Regions from separate parts of the Homo sapiens genome. Here regions 1, 2 and 4 are each linked to region 3. The links are contacts of gene promoters, found by promoter capture Hi-C in blood cells and fetal thymus (Javierre and others, 2016). All regions are on one chromosome and are shown on one strand. The core of a region is centred on a gene start or on the middle of the fragment in contact, and the rest is flanking DNA. Distances in the headings are between cores, read along the strand shown. Region 1 overlaps DNAJC13 (DnaJ heat shock protein family (Hsp40) member C13). Region 2 overlaps CPNE4 (copine 4). Region 3 holds the start of MRPL3 (mitochondrial ribosomal protein L3). Region 4 overlaps PIK3R4 (phosphoinositide-3-kinase regulatory subunit 4).

The links. Contacts are between HindIII fragments. The CHiCAGO score rates a contact against its expected background, and 5 or more counts as called.
Region 1: a fragment that was not itself captured here is called in contact with the fragment with the promoter of MRPL3 in region 3 in 2 of 17 cell types (total CD8 T cells and activated CD4 T cells); the score reaches 5.0 in total CD8 T cells.
Region 2: a fragment that was not itself captured here is called in contact with the fragment with the promoter of MRPL3 in region 3 in 2 of 17 cell types (megakaryocytes and erythroblasts); the score reaches 7.9 in megakaryocytes.
Region 4: a contact is called between a fragment that was not itself captured here and the fragment with the promoter of MRPL3 in region 3, in 4 of 17 cell types (non-activated CD4 T cells, total CD4 T cells, total CD8 T cells and 1 more). The highest score is 9.1, in non-activated CD4 T cells.

Annotation. Positions count from the first base shown.
Region 1 is chr3:132,422,166-132,426,259 of GRCh38, reverse strand. All of the region lies in intron 1 of DNAJC13 (DnaJ heat shock protein family (Hsp40) member C13), which reads right to left. Among named protein-coding and RNA genes, the nearest start is that of DNAJC13, 6.7 kb to the right of the region's middle. The HindIII fragment of the contact is 154 bases long and covers 2,281-2,434 here.
Region 2 is chr3:132,024,026-132,028,160 of GRCh38, reverse strand. All of the region lies in intron 1 of CPNE4 (copine 4), which reads left to right. Among named protein-coding and RNA genes, the nearest start is that of CPNE4, 8.9 kb to the left of the region's middle. The HindIII fragment of the contact is 658 bases long and covers 1,200-1,857 here.
Region 3 is chr3:131,501,721-131,505,905 of GRCh38, reverse strand. It overlaps MRPL3 (mitochondrial ribosomal protein L3), which reads left to right and starts at 2,935. Exons shown (of 10, transcript NM_007208.4): 1 at 2,935-3,176. The coding sequence starts at 3,085. It overlaps LOC105374114 (a long non-coding RNA gene), which reads right to left and starts at 3,307. Exons shown (of 3, transcript NR_189111.1): 1 at 3,202-3,307. RefSeq lists enhancers at 3,037-3,106, 2,613-3,299. The HindIII fragment of the contact is 1,488 bases long and covers 2,148-3,635 here.
Region 4 is chr3:130,727,197-130,731,387 of GRCh38, reverse strand. It overlaps PIK3R4 (phosphoinositide-3-kinase regulatory subunit 4), which reads left to right. Exons shown (of 20, transcript NM_014602.3): 5 at 946-1,080; 6 at 2,704-2,925. Among named protein-coding and RNA genes, the nearest start is that of PIK3R4, 18 kb to the left of the region's middle. The HindIII fragment of the contact is 2,921 bases long and covers 894-3,814 here.

The sequences.
Region 1 (4,094 bases), core at 1,108-3,607, 920 kb before region 3:
TCATGCTATATCCTAAATTACACCACCAAAGAAACTTCTGTTTGTTCTTTTTATAGAACTGTCCTATGGGTTAAAAAGTCAAATTCAGGGCAACACAGGCATTTTGGCTAGATTCACCTCTCTCAATGAATACTACTGCATCATGCTTTCGAACAACACAATATTCTTGCATTCTCTAATTTATTACTGGCAGTAATACTGGCAAACCATTTAAGATCATTTATGGTTAAAATGAGAATGATCTTTTAGAAGACACATAATTTTGACAGAAAACCACAGGATTTGGGAGTCCAGTGAGAAGAAGCCTACATCAAGTTGACACTAAGAACAAAAGCAAGATGAAGGGACTCAACACCACAGACACTCAAGCCAATTACGGTCAAGCTATAAGCAAAAAAATTTACACACACAGCAAAATTAAGTATATACACATGGCTTGTGTTAAGCAAAAACACAAGCAGAACACTCATTTAACTAGGGATGAATGAATACACTTAGAAAAAAATACACTAGTGAAAGAAGGATTGGCATTAATCAGGCTAGTCACCTGTTTAAAGCACGTATTTAGCATCATCAACTGGAAGTAATTTTTACACAAATATGACAACTTGCAGAGAACAGGTAAGCTACTGATTTTCCCATTTTGAGTCTGTAAAATGCAAGAACGGAACTTACTTTCATTAGCTCTGCCCTCAATAACTAAAAATGTGAATTTGTTTTGAAATGCATAAAAAATAAGATGGATTGATGGAAAGATGGACAGATCTGTGATAAAGCAAGTACAGTAAAATGTTAATGTAAAAACCTTTAGGTGGGCATGTGGGTATCTAATGTAAAGTTCTTTCAACCTGGCTGTAGGTGAAAATGTTTACAATATGTTGGGTGAAAATTGTGGAGTTTGCCTTTTCTGATCAAACTCTCCTACAACAGAAACAATGCTACATTCCAAAACCACACTTAAAATGTAGCAGACATTCACATCATAGGAACTAATTTATGAACGTAATACTTCCTACAGCTATATCTTACCAAAAAGGGAGGGGTAGTAAGGAGAACCATGGAAAGACTAACCCTTTGAAAAAATAACTAATAAGAGTAATAGATAGAATATCTTATATTGGCTTCTTGAGGATCTAGGTTTGTTTGTAACTGGATTCAAAATCTGAGTAAATCATAGCACTAGATTAGTTTGGTTTCAAACAAATGGTAAAAAATATGAATGGCTAACAGAATGTTCATTTTTACCCAGATTAAATAGCTACAACTAAACTGTTTAGATAGAATGTGCTGTGTATGGGGGAAACTGCCATATGAACTTTAACCCTATTTTTAAATTTTAGCTTCATTTTAATATATGACTCAAGTACAGGTAAAAGCATTTTCTTCTAAATGAACAACAAATCAGTATGTGTAATATGTATGATACCAACAGGAATCTTAAAACAAACCATAAATACATCACAAAGATTTTAGTACCTACCATCTTAGCCTTCCTTAACTTACTGAAGAACCCGATACCTCCAGAGATAGATGTCGTTGAAGAATAAAAAAAGCCAGCGGTAATATCAAATTTCATCTGATAATCATATCTTCAAATAATTGCCCAGATATTTTAAAGTGAAGTGATTGTACTGTCACATCATAATCAACTTTTAACTAGTTTCACTACCATAGGGTAGCTGAAATAATATGAGATCTCCACCATTGTTTTTAAAAACTTGATTCCTTTCTATTACAAACTGAGTATATATTAATGAAATACAGGGCAAGAAAAATTCAAAAGCAACCCCTAAATCTGAAGAAACACTTAATGGGAGGAGGGGACAAGCATACTTACCATAGCAGTTACTTTTTTTGACCTCTTCTATTCAACAGTATAAATCAAGTATTGAAAAGAGACCTGTCTCTTCTATTTCTATCACATGTATGCTCATTTCATCTGAGGGGAATAATTTGTATTTCTGACAAAACAGAAGTTTATCTGTTGTTAAAAAAATTCAAATTTTCTGTGAAAGATGTATTACTATGACCCTTCCCTTTCCAAAGCTTAAAAATGCCTTAAAATACTCACCTGAAAGCTTTCTTTCCAGAAACATGTTCACTTAAGCAATGCTTTGAAATCATTGCTATTGATCATTTACATATTTTTAGTTTATACACATTATTGTAACTTTATAGACCTAATTTCTATTTCATTTTATCTTTGAAGCATAACCTGGCTTATGCAAGAACAAACTATACTATTTCTGTAAGGTCTTCAGCTTATCAACTTATTAAGCTTATCAGCTTATTAAGGCACTTAATAATCATGCTCTACTATGGTAAACAGGCCCTGAAATGGGCAAAAGAAATTTTTAGCAGCCATATTTTAACTTGTTGCTGTTTTTCCTATCATTACAGTAAATGCATAATGCGGGACTAAATTTCCTAAGCTTTTAACACATACAACTTGAAGACAGTTTTACAGAAAGCATCCTGAAAACCCAAACACTGTTCTTTTTATACTATTAAAAGACAAAAGTTTAATTTGCTACAATTTCCCCTTCACTCAATACAAAATAGCAAAAACATACATTTCTAGTTTAGTTCTGAAATATCCCTATTATTCCTACCTCTTCTGTGGCGCTTTACAGTTTATAGAACACTACCAAATTATCTTAAAAAAGCAAAGTTTCACTTTTAAAATTAAGCCCATTAGTGCTAAGATTTGGGGGGAAAATGGCTTATCTGCTCTAAGATTTGATAAACATTCAAAATACATTCTGTAGCTTGACTAGAAGTTTGAGGAGAGAAACCCCATAGCCTTAGATGACTAAGGAATACAATAAAAGTGAGAACACCATGTATAAGCGTTTAAATGTATTACAGAATACATGAAATATTAGAGAACATCTCCTCCATTCATAACCTCACCAACCCTTCCATTAAGTTGTGGCAACTAGAGCTGGCAAAAATCAAAGCGTCGAAATAATTTTTTTTAAGAGACAGGGTCTTCCTTTGTCACCCAGACTGAAACGCAGCAACACAATCATAGCTCACTGTAATCTCAGTCTCCTGGGTTCAAGCAATCCTCCTGCCTCAGCCTCCCGAGCACACGTCACCACAGCCAGCTAGTTATTTCATTTTTTGATGAGACGGGGTTGCTCAAGCTAGGTTGGAGCTCCTGGCCTCGAGTGATCCTCCCGCCTCAGCCTTCCAAGTGCTGGGATTACACGTGTGATTATTGTGCACCCAGCTAAAATAATTCTGGATTGCTTTAGGGGTTTTGTTTTCTATCTGATAATCAAAATATCAAACTCTTATTAATCCATTGCAAAGAGATATTACCACTGGGCATGTGCTAAATATGTGACTAGGCAGTGTTCTTCTAAGGGCAACTTGAGTGCTTAAACTGTAAAATTCCACTGACTTTAAAGCTCACTCTTTTTCACAAGTAGTCCATGAAAGTACAAGTAAAACTCCCATATGTCGACTATTGAATAAAGAGCATCTGAAAAGAATTACTAGCAAGCTATATGGTTTTATTGACTGAACCACACCTAAATGTACCTTTGCACAGGTAACTATCTTAAATTAGCAAAGATGATCATAACCATGTTGGTTTAAACTATTTGTTACAAAGAAATCTAACTCAGTTACTCTCAAAGGAGTTCCTATGATTAAGAATCACTCCACATAACAAGAAGTGTTATAAATTGGCATATGCTGGGTATGTGAACACTGCTGAAACAGAAAAAATATGTTGAAAACCACTGATTAAAATTTTGAACTAAAGTAATGGTTGGGCTAGGATGCCATCCCATCTGAGGCACTATGACTGGGAGCACTACTAGCATTTAGTGGATGAGACTAGATATTCAACATACATTACAGTCCCAAAGATAAGTACCATCCACACCATACGACTTTCAAGTGTCCAAGTGAGCCAGGTATGGTGGCTCACACCTGTAATCCCAGCATTCTGAGAGGCTGAGGTGGGAGGATTGCTTGAGCTCAGGAGTTTGAGACTAGCCTGGGCAACATAGTGAGACCTCGTCTCTACTAAAAATAATAATAATAAAAAAAAGTTAGCTGGGCATGGCGTGCCTATGGCT
Region 2 (4,135 bases), core at 279-2,778, 520 kb before region 3:
GCAGGCACTTTGGTTTGTATGTATTCTTAACAGCGCTAATAGAGATTCTAAAATCTAATCAACTTGCACCATGCCCTGTATGTAGTAATTTCATCAATATCATGAAGTAAATGCCTAAATCATTGACTTAATTCATTTAAACAGAAAATGATTTGGAAGGAAATGTAATAGAAATATAACCAAGAACCTTTACCATTAAGTGATGGGTCTGAAACAATCTAAATAAGAACTCTGTTTTAAAAATATTGAAAGGTGTATTTCATACAAATATCCATAAAAATGAAAAATAATAAGGGCAATAGAATGGCCCAAAACAATACTTTATCATTATCATTAAAGACAAAGAAGGCTTTTAAGATGTTAGTAGCCACTAGCATTGCAAGATGACTGAGGTGATGTCTTTGTTATCTTCGGAGCAGTTGATTCAACAGGTAACTCAGAGATATAAATTTCAGTGGCAAAAGTCAAGGAGTTTTGCACCTGACATTGTGCTAATGTGAAACTAGGGATGGACACCTTTGATCATGTGTGTTAACGTTATCTGGCCAGGTAGACTGCAGAGCTCCCGAGAAGCCATTGTCAGATTTCTTTTGCTTGGTGGCCTTTACGTCCTGTGACTTGACTGATTGTGAATTGTATTGGAGAAAAGGCACGATAAGAGGAAAAGAGTGGAAATAGTTGATTTTTTGGCAACTAATAACACTCATGATAGCTCCTAACCTGATTTAATTTTAAAAAGATGGGAAAATAAATGCCTCTTATGGAATAAGAGAATGTGAGAACTTGGCAATCCCATAAAATTATGCACACCCCTCCCATTTTCCAGATAAGAAAAAAGAGACTCAGCAAGGTGAAGTGACTTGCTCAAGCTCGTTGGTGGCCTAGTTACAGCAGTGAGAATAAAGGCTTCTTCACTCCTGGGCCTGGGGTTCTTCTCTGGCCCATGCCACACCACACTCCTCTCTCCTCTCCACTTCATGCTTCAGGGGGTCAGAACTCTCTCTGTCTTGCTCACAACTGAACCCCAAACAGTGCTAGGTACCTAGTAGTTGCTCAAAAACTTTTGGTTGACTGAATGAAATAAGCTGTTTCTTTCTTCCTCACTCATATCAGGAAATGTGCCAAGAAATCACAGGGTTGCAATGCAGTTTGATAAAGACAAATATGTGTTAAGTTTTGTTATGATAAGGGCTTAAGCTTTAAAAGTAAGCATACTTAGTTTGAACGCTGGCTCTGGCACTTAATAGCTGTTTTGCTTTGGGGAAATTACTAAACCTGTCCCTATTTCCTCATTTGTAAAAATGGAGATTAAACCATATATATAAGGCTATAAGGCAGAAGAGAGGCCTTGACTCACTGTATGTATGCACTCAATGTTTTTTTCCTACTTTCCCAACCTTGCTCTCCATCCATCCTGAGAAGATTTAAAGTGGGATATAGTACTTCTTTTAAAAAGTAATGTTAATTTATTTCAGATAATATGCATTTATCTTGCAGAAAAATAAAATTATTTAATTATATAAATATAAATACATACACAGTCACTAGAAGTGTATATTCTGTGGGTTAGATATTAATAGTACTGTTTTATAAATAATTTGGTCAGTTGTCAAAGCACTGGCAACTGGGAGGAAGAGGAATGAAATTTAGGGTATCCCTATTCCAATTCAGACCAGGGCACATTTATCCAGTCCATGCTTCATAAGATCTTTGCTTCTTGGGCTTGGATTCTCCAAGTTGAAGTTAATTCTCTTTACCATACCCTCTCCTGGCCTGGCTATGCTTCAGCCCCTGCATTGTGTGCCTTGTAACATGGTTATTCATAGATATGACCATGTCTGTAGCATGTTGCAAGCTTTTCCAAGTAGCAGTTGTATATCACACTTCTTGATATGACTCCAGAGAACCTAGAACTTTTTTGGCACATAGGATACTCCCTCTGTCACTCTGGGTGCATCTCCATTCCCTTAGCAAATATCCTGCATCCAGGCAAAGCATGCTTTTAACTTACTCAAAATCTATTCTACGCCTGCTCTCATTTATTAAAAATATTCTTATTATATTTTGATTATTGACTTTATCATATCATCCAAATTGATATATGAAGTTGTATGACATATTACTACTGCACATAGTTGTATCTGTAATACAACATATATTGTACTTCATGAAAAATTTATAATATTTTTCAAGGATTATTTTGACTACGTGTGTGTTGTACTTTACGCATTGACTTTAAATCACAGTCCTCACCTCAAATGTGCTCCACTATATTTGCAAGACTATTCTGTGTGTTGTATGTAGGTAGGTAAGATTGTGTATTGGTGAATGGCATAAATTTTAAGTCAGGAATTCCTAGGTTTGAATTTCAGCTCTGCTTAACCTGTTGAAGCTCAGTTTTCATAGATATAGAATGAGAATAATGATTGTGTCTATGTTATAGGATGGCTGTGAAGCTTGCTGTCACTTGGAAATTACTCAAATTGCAACCTTTATTTGCTGGTGGCATCTCTCACAAACTAGAGGCTTATTAGTAGTTAATTACCCTAATGGTAATGGTTTGCTGTGTTGCAGGGGAATTGTGAAAATTAGAAGTGTGTTTATGAAGGTATGGTAGATATCAGCAACAAAATGTATGCTTTTCATAGCTACTGAATCATTTACCCTTCTTCTCCCTTTCCTCCTCTCCTCTCTCTCTGTTCCTACTCACAAATTTTATGCCCAGCCACAAAAGGTGACTCAAGCGTTATGCTGGAGTTTCTCTAAGATAAAACTTCCTCTGTTTCTAATGGTTCCAGCTTTATTTCAAATGAAAGGTACGTTTAGTACTGGCCCCAGGAACACAACCAGAATACAAAATCAATCATTCCACCCTACAAGACCAGCAGCAGAAATTTATTGTATTTGACTTTGTTTCCCCTGCCCTTGTCCCAAAAGGATCTTAGGCTGCCAGCATTAGACAACATATTGGGTATCTCTCTGTTACGAAAGTCTAAAATGTTACTGGCATAAAATATTATCTTCAAGCCATGGTTCTCAAACTTGAGGATGAGTCAGAATCTCCGAATCTCCTGGAGGGCTTGTTAAAACCCGAAGTGATGGGCCCTTCCTGTGGAATTTCTAACTCAGTGGGTCTAGGGTAGGAGTAAAATAATTTGATTTCTAACAACTTCTAAAGGTGATACTGATGCTACTAGTTTGGACACCACACTTTGGGAACCAGTGCCTTAAATATTTACTTTATGTAGACAAGCCATGAATTTTGTCTCCTGTGTGGTACCACTGAGAACAGCATTAGTGGTAAAGAAAGGGATCTGGCATTTACTGAGCACCTATGACATTTGCCATCTGCCAGGTACCTCATGGGGCACTTTATACACATTATTCTATTTAAGACTCACAGCCACCCTGTCAATCAATTTATGATTATTTATTGAGACCCTATCATGTATCATGTAATGTGCTGTACTAGACTTTGGTAATGTGGGATGAACGAAACAGACATAATCCTGACCTTCTGGATATTATATTTCAGCAAGGAAGACATGCTTGAGCAAATAATTATAAGGGTGATTAGCCTGATATATAAAAAATGGAAGACCAGAGAGGCCAAGTAAATTGGCTGTGATTACACAGCAAGTGGGAGACAGAGGAGACAAATAAAACCCTTAAAAACCATTTTGCTCCAAAATGTACAGTCCTTCCACTAAAACATAGGTGCTCAAACTTTTGATCCACAGGGTGCTTTACACTCTTAATAACTATTGAAGACCCCAGGGCTGGGCGCAATGGCTCACACCTGTAATCCCAACACTTTGGGAGGTCAAGGTGGGCAGATCACTTGAGGTCAGGAGTTCGAGACTAGCCTGGCCAACATGGTGAAACCCCATCTCTACTAAAAATACAAAAATTAGCCCGGCGTGGTGGTGTGTGCCTGTAATTCCAGCTACTCAGGTGGCTGAGGCAGGAGAATCTCTTGAAGGTAGGAGGCACAGGTTGCAGTGAGCCAAGATTGCGCTGCAGCACTCTAGCCTGGGCAACAGAGCAAGACTGTGTCTCAAAAAAAAAAAAAAAAAAATTACTGAAGACCCCAAAGAGCTTTTGTTCACGTGTATTAAATCTATCAATATTTACT
Region 3 (4,185 bases), core at 1,686-4,185:
CCTTCTATGATGATTCTCTTGTATTGAACATGGCTTTAGTAATTCAAAAATGAATCTATTCCTAATGTTTTATTTAATAAGAGAAGGTTTATGAGATCATCTGTTGGTCTGAATTAGCGGAGTAAGAGTTATAGAACTGTACCACTAAAAAGAGAAAGTGCAAGTTATCTTCGTTCCAATAAGGAATTGAAATCTTAGAGAGGCAAAATGGCATTACAGTTTCAGGGTCTAAGGCAGTGTCTGAAGGATGACATCAGAAATAACAGGAAGCTCTAGGTCAGTGCCTGACTGCCCTAGAAAAGCCTAGGCTGGGTCCCTTGACAACTGGGCCTAGTAGCTGTCAGCAGCATATTACAGTGACTAAATCAAGTATGACACCACTCAGCCCTGGCTGGCAATCAGGAGACACATTTTTTACGACAGCAGACAAACCATGTTTTACTTTGATTCAGTTCAGCGGTGGTGCCTGCTGTCAAGGTCCTCCTTATGGACTAGGAGATATTTGGTACTATGGGAAAAGGTTAGACCAAATGGCTACCTCTTCAATCCTCACTGACCACTGCGTGTGATTACTTACCGATTTTCCTCTTTAGCCTTAAAGAAATTCCAAGGCAAGAGTAGTGACATATTTGTCATAGAGAGCCAAAGAAACAAAATGTCTAAAAGCATAAGCTCTATCTATGGTCACAGTCTTTGGCTCTACCAGTTAATAGCTGGGTGATTTTATTTAAGTTATGTAATCTCTGTATGCCTATTTTCTTAACTGTAAGATCCAGATAATTATACTATTGTCACAGCAGATTGTCATAACAATCAAGTGAGAAAATACACTGAGAGAGTAAAAATGAATACTATTAGTAACTGGACTGCAGTGTTTATAGCAGAACATCAATACAATATTTCTTTTTTTTTTTTTTGAGACGGAGTCTTGCTCTGTCACCCAGGCTGGAGTGCAGTGGCTCAATCTCGCTCACTGCAAGCTGCGCCTCCCAGGTTCACACCATTCTCCTGCCTCAGCCTCCTGAGTAGCTGGGACTACAGGCACCCGCCACTACGCCCGGCTAATTTTTTTTTGTATTTTTAGTAGAGAAGGGGTTTCACCATGTCAGCCAGGATGGTCTCAATCTCCTGACCTCGTGATCCACCCGCCTTGGCATCCCAAAGTGCTGAGCCACCACGCCCAGCCCATCATTACAATATTTCTTACAGACCGTACTGTAGGCCACACCACTGCAGCAAAATGACTAACAGTTCCTTATTCTGAGTGATTCCTGCTTTCTTATGAACATCATGCCCACTTCCTCTCTGTTCTTCCTGTCTCTAGAACAAAGACTATCAAGATATCCAATTGCTGAACTGTCCTTTCTTCTTGACAGCACCCATTCTAAAACAAGTTCCTGCTTCTCTGATGCCACTTTAAAATCACTCAGCCTTAAGTCCAAATTTCATTTCAAGCCCCTCCCAGGTCACTCTTTTGGAAACATCCTCAGACATATGCTGTCTTTTGCTGCATCAAGCTAATTAAACTTGACTTTGTATGAGTTCACGTTTTCTTCTAGTAGCCTTGGCTTATGGGCTTCCACAATGCTGAGCACATACTCTAGCACACTATATGGATAAGAAATGTTAGTTATTGGCAGTAGTACAGAAATCTTCTTATTCTCAACTTCTTGCATGTAGCACACCTCAAAACATGTTTGTTCAATGAAGAGCCATCCTTAAGTATCTGGGAAGCCAGGCAGCATGGCTAGAATGAAGAGATGTAGTTTTTCCTTCAAGGTCCAAAGTATTATTGAAAAGTGTCTAAGGTAACTGCAACAGCAATGAGTGGAATGAATGGACAAGCAAAGCAAAGATTTTTTAGCCCACTAAAGTCCAAGTAATGGCCAGGAATTGACCATTGTCTGGACCTGTTAAACCAAGATAGCCAGATCTCTAGTAAAAAGAGAAGGTTGAAATAGCTACACTTTAAAGTTCTTATTTCCAAATTTCTACAAACAGTAATCTGACAAATAAGGGAATTAGTAGAAGAATAAATGTCCTAGTCACATACATGGTTATTAGGCTAGATCTGGAACCCAAGACAGGGGATTTTTTGTGCAGGTGTATTAGCTATCTATTATTGCATAACAAATTACCCTAAAGCTTAATGACTCAAAAAAACGGTAATCATTTATTTTCTCTGGCAATTTCTCCTAGTCAGTAATTCATGAGCGGCCTGGCTGGGAGATTCAGGCTTAACGTCTCCATGAGTTGCAGCCGAGGACTGGTGGATCCACTTCCTAGGTGGCTCAGTCATGACTGGCTAGTTGATTCCTCTTTATATGTTCCTCCCTGCAGAGCTGTTTGAGTGTCTGCAGGAAATGAAGGCTAGCTTTCTCCACAGGGAGCAATCCAAGAGACAAAAACTGAAGTAACAATATGTTTTATGATCCAGCCCTAGAAGGCATACATCATTTCTATGGGTGTAGTCTATTGATAACACATGCCAACCCTGTTTCAGTGCCAACTCTGCTCCTCTGCCAGATGTGTTGTTTTGGACCAGCACCTAAATTCTGAGTCAGTTTCCTCATTTATAATAGAAAAATAAATACTTCCTTTCAGGACCGTTTTTTATGATTAACAAATATAGGATTATGAAGCGCTGCTTAGCATAATGCATTGCCTCACAACGGGCACTATTTAGAAGTGTCTTCATTTTCCTTAGCGTCCTCAGGAAGTCTGTCCTTATTCTTCTAAAGTTTAAACTCTGAACATCCCTTTTATTTTACCCCTGGAGAGGCGAGTCAGTCCCTTCCCACCCCTACCTACTCCAACTCACATCCAAAGTAGGACAACGGTGGAAGCAGAACTATAGTTTCCGGGGAGCGACTCGAGTGCCCGGAGTTCATTGTAAAACGCACCGGAAGTGGGTCCGGCGGCTTTCTTTCCGTCGCAGAGAGCATCGGCCGGCGACCGTTCCGGCGGCCATTGCGAAAACTTCCCCACGGCTACTGCGTCCACGTGGCGGTGGCGTGGGGACTCCCTGAAAGCAGAGCGGCAGGGCGCCCGGAAGTCGTGAGTCGAGTCTTCCCGGGCTAATCCATGCCGGGTTGGAGGCTGCTGACGCAGGTCGGCGCCCAGGTGCTGGGTCGACTCGGGGACGGCCTGGGTGCTGCCCTGGGCCCGGGGAACAGGTAGGAAGGTGTGAGGGTGTCCTACCTGCACAGTTGCGTCCTGAAGCAGTGGAATGGCCTGGTGCAGTTGGGCCTCCCCTGGGTGGAGGAGGAAGGGGCTCTGTTGAGACGTGGGACACAGAAGAATAAGGGCCGTTAACCTAAGGAAGCACGTTCTAAGGGGATTGAAGTGGTGATTTTTAAAAAACGCTTATGAGCCAGCCACTAGCAGCGAACGCTATTAACAGCAATCATATCTTACAATTAGTGAGCGTTTGCCAGGTACTAAGCGCTCTGCTAAGTGTATTAGGTGCCTTATGTAGCCTCACGGGAGCAAACTGCTATCATAAGGTTTACAGATAAAACTGAAGGTTAGGGAGGTGAGTTAATTTGCCCAAAGTCACTCAACTAATAAGTGGAAAATTAGGAATCTAGCCTGAATTTATCTGACTACAAAAGGAGAGTAGACTGCAGAAAGCTTTACTTCTGTTCTGACCCTCCATGCAAGAATTACACCCCTTCTTCCTGACCTCCGCCCACTAAGGTCTTTCTTGGTATGTTCACCTGTTCAGAGGTCATGCCTTTTGTGGATCTTTTAACTTTGCACACCCAGTTTCTTCACTTCTCTGAACCTAGGCCATGTCATTGCAGGGAGGAGGTGAGCTTGTTAGACAAAGATCAACATGCCACCTTCTGCCACCTCCACTGAATGTAAAACTATTAAGGTACACTTCCAAATGGGTTAGTGGCTTTTCATGTCTATAGGTAGGACTGTTTTTTGGGGAATATGTTTATCTGCGAGGAGAAGATGAATTTTTTTCTCCAGGGTAACGACTAACAGTTTAAATGTGAGCCTTATCCGAAGGAATGTGGGGAGTGAGGAAAAGGTTGGAGACCTGAAAAAAAGGTATACAGAATCCAAGCCCTTTCCCAAGGCCCTGACTACACTTTCCAATTTGTGACTTCCCTTTTCTATATTAAGTGGAGGAAGTTTTTAAATTGTGGTTTGGTTTTATTTATTTTTTCTTTT
Region 4 (4,191 bases), core at 1,105-3,604, 770 kb after region 3:
AATTGTGTTTGATTGACTCAAAGATCTCAACTGCCATAAGGTACATTTTGATTTCAGAGATGTTGGAAAGCAAGGAAAAAGTAAGGTTATTTTAAGTTTAAGGTAGTTAAACTTTACGTTCAGTGCTATTCACTGCTAAGAAGGAAAAGAGTACAGTCTTTGACCGGTTGTGATCATATGTTAAGAAACACATATGTTAAGTGGGAGGCAAGGTAGGAGAAGAAAGTGTAAGTGAAGAGCAGATACAATTGATAGTAAATGTGACAGCAGAAATTAGAAGTAGTTATTTTGTAGTGGTGAGGAATATCAGACAGTCTTTGTAGGTCATCAGAAAGAGAAAGGAGAAGATATAGACAACTGTAGAAATGTGCAAACAGTCTGCCACTTTGGTTCACTAAGAACTTGAGTATCACTTGTAAAGCAGTCTAACAATGGTTTCTCTTTGAGGCAGTTGTGACTTTTCATTTATATGTGAAGAAACAGTCTCAGATTGCTTAAATGGTCAAGTTAGTAAGTGGCAAGGTTGAGATTTGAACCCAGGTCTTTCTGATGCCAAAGCTTAGCTTTATCTGTTATTTTAATGTGGATGTTTCTTTGTTAGTCTAATAAATATCTCTCACTTGTCAAGGATACTGTTTAAAAGGTAAGTCCCTGCAGAGAATTAGGCTTTTTTTTTTTTTTGGTCCTCAGTAGATGAGGTATTAGATTATTTTTATATTATTATTTTTTTAAGCTGTGTTTCAAAAATAAGACTAGTGGTTTGGAGACAGTTACAGATTATGAGCTGGGTTACTAAAATCTGATTAAGTTAAATGCTAAATTGAAAAGTTCTGTTTTTCCCATAGGCTTATGATTATTTATGTATAAAGACAGGGAGGAAAAGTTAATAAGCTTTACAGAGAGTTAAGATTGTAATTATAAATTTTCTTCCTTTTTATTTTATAGAAAACATAGCTCTGCTGGCAGAAACAGCTCTGAGATTCCTGGAATTAGTACAGTTAAAAAATCTTAATATGGAAAATGACCCCAATAATGAAGAAATAGATGAGGTTACACATCCAAATGGAAATTATGACACAGGTTGTATAATTTTCTCTTCCAGATTTCCTGTTATTTAGAATGAATTGCTGATGCTAACTTGTAAAACTATCATTTGTAGTTTTCATGTAAGGTGAAGGAATACCAGATCTATATATTAGATAGGAAGAGTCCCTGGTGTCTAATTATTCTCTCTATCCTCATATACTGTTATCTTGCTCAAAAATAATCAGCTTGTCACCATGGATACTAAAGTCAATTGTTTGTCAGCCAGAATTGATTTGTGTGAACAGTAAAGCTGGCTGAATTATATAATTCTCATAAAAGAAAAAATTAGAAACATCATAGCTAAAGAAGCTAAACCTTTTCTCCTTACGTGAGTATATTCTGAGTATCCTCAATCATAAATTGTTTTTATTTCATACTATTTGTTATTTACAAAAAACCATAAAGGAACAGATGTGATGATGGTAAACTTATTGATGTCAAAGTCCTTGTCTTAGGTTTCTTTGTGTTATACAACTCTTTACAGATTTTTACTTAATGTTTGTTGAGTAAAAGATTTAGAAGTAAAGTAATAGATGTAATTTTCTCCAAGATGCTTCTAGTTGTGAAAAACTAGAGAAATCTAGTTTTTTAGAATTTTATGCTGCAAACAACTACAATTGTTACTTGTTAGAATGGCACCATTTTTAGACAACATGTATTATCTAGAGTTGAATACAGTGGAATAATTTTGAAGTTATAGGAGGATGTATCAGGAAGTCCTAGCCTTTTTTTATGGAATTACTTGGAAAATAATACTGTCCTATAACCATGTAATTGGACCTGTTGAGATAATAAAGTTAAATGGTAAAATTTTTGGGGAGGGAATCTAAAGTTTTTCTTAATGTGAGCATATAGTTTTGCATGTCAGACCAGTTACCTTTTTCCTTGACAGTAGTAGCTGGACCAAGAGTGGCCCCTGTCTTCTGTTTATTCACAGATAATTGTTAAAGATTAGCTCTGCATCAGGCAATTAGGAGCCTGCCCTAAGCACTAGAGCATGGTGGTGAATACGATAGAAACGATCCTTGCTCTTGAGCTTACATTTTAGTAAAAAGAAGACAGGCAGCTAAGTAAATAAATAAGTGAGAAAAAGTGAGGATGAGGAAGAGAAGAGGTAAGACCAGAGAAGACAGTGGCCAGATGAAGTAAAGCCTTGACAGAACTTGCAGTGTGTTTTCTGGCTTTCTAAAATAAACTGACCTTTAAAAACATTTTCTAAAAGGATTGCTCAGTACCATCATATTATATCCTAATCCTATTCCATTATTTTCAAGTCCTTGATTAACTGGGATCTTACTGGGGCAATGTGATTTCCTTTCTGGTGCTTCTCTATAATTTTCTCCTTGAGCTAATAAATGAAACTATTTGATTAGTGAGATAGTAACTATGTTTGTGGCATCTGCTTGTTAGGATATTCTTCACTTTATATTTCAGTTTCCCATCCTTCAGAGCTTTGAATAATGCAAAAAATTGGTGATTAAAGTCTTCGGTGGATTCTGTAATCAGTCTCTCTGATGAGTAAGAAAGAAGACTGGGACTATCTGTATGGGGAAAAATTGATCTTTTCTTAACTATTTCTTTTCTTTCTTTCTTTCTTTCTTTTTTTTTTTTTTTTAGAGCTCCAAGCCTTACATGAAATGGTCCAGCAGAAAGTTGTTACTTTGCTAAGTGACCCTGAAAATATTGTAAAACAAACCTTGATGGAAAATGGAATAACACGGCTGTGTGTATTCTTTGGACGTCAGAAAGCCAACGATGTTTTGTTGTCCCACATGATTACTTTCCTAAATGATAAGAATGATTGGCATCTACGTGGAGCATTTTTTGATAGTATAGTTGGTATGTTTTTTGCTTTTAAATTCCTTTAAGATTTTTAATCATCCTCTCAAATACTTCCATGCAATCTGAAGGATAGATGATACTACCAAATTTCATTAATAATGAAATGAATTCCTAGTATTTCTGTCTTCATGCTGCTTTTGGATGATGTAAGTATTTTGGCTTGGTTAAAATAAAGGGTTGGTATATCAACCTGTGTTACATCCGTATGAAGGAATACCGTGTGGTCATTAACTATATTTAGACAGAATAATGACCTGGAAAGTACCATGAAGTATGTTAAAGTGACATAAGTAGGTTGTAAATCCTCTTAAAGAATGATTGCTGTAGTGTAAAGGTAACAATAACAGAAATCATATATGTTTATAAACATGTTAATAAAAGTGAACATGCATCACTTTTAGAATCAGAAAATAAGTTAAAATATAATCATGGTTGAAAATCAATGTAGTTGGAAAGAATTAAGTTAAAGGCTTTGTGTAACTGAAAATTTGTGAAAATTTAAGCAGCATTTTTTTTTTGCTGTTCTTTCATTTTACAATTCTTGATTTTTAGATATATCTAAAGTCAGACATCTTGTGTTTTATATGCATGACTTATATTACATTTGTATTCAGAATTAGAAGTAAATGAAGTGGACAGTATTTTGCATGGGTTAAGTCATGTTTGATACAGGATTTAATATTTTTCTCTTTTGAATAATAACTGATCCCCTTTTCCCTGAATGTACTGATCTTTTCAGTTTAAGATTTGGCCAATTATGAAATATATGCTAAATTCATATTATTATGATTATCCACTACCCCCTATTATATCATTTCCCACATAGTTGTAACAGTTTATCTGTTAACCCGAAAAGTTTAAAGACTATTCTGCACAATAGAAAGCTTGGCTGTGTCCAGACTTTCTTGTGAGGCAGCAGAAGCTGTAAGACTTTAAGGGCCGGGCGCCGTGGCTCACGCCTGTAATCCCAGCACTTTGGGAGGCCGAGGCGGGCGGATCACGAGGTTAGGAGATCGAGACCATCCTGGCTAACACGGTGAAACCCCGTCTCTACTAAAAATACAAAAAATCAGCCGGGCGCGGTGGCGGGTGCCTGTACTCGGAGGCGGCGGGAGGGGGGCTGAGGCAGGAGAATGGCGTGAACCCAGGAGGCGGAGCTTGCAGTGAGCTGAGATTGCGCCACTGCAGTCAGGCCTGGGTGAAAGAGCGAGACTCCGTCTCAAAAAAAAAAAAAAGACTTTAAGTTTTGGTTCCCAATAATCT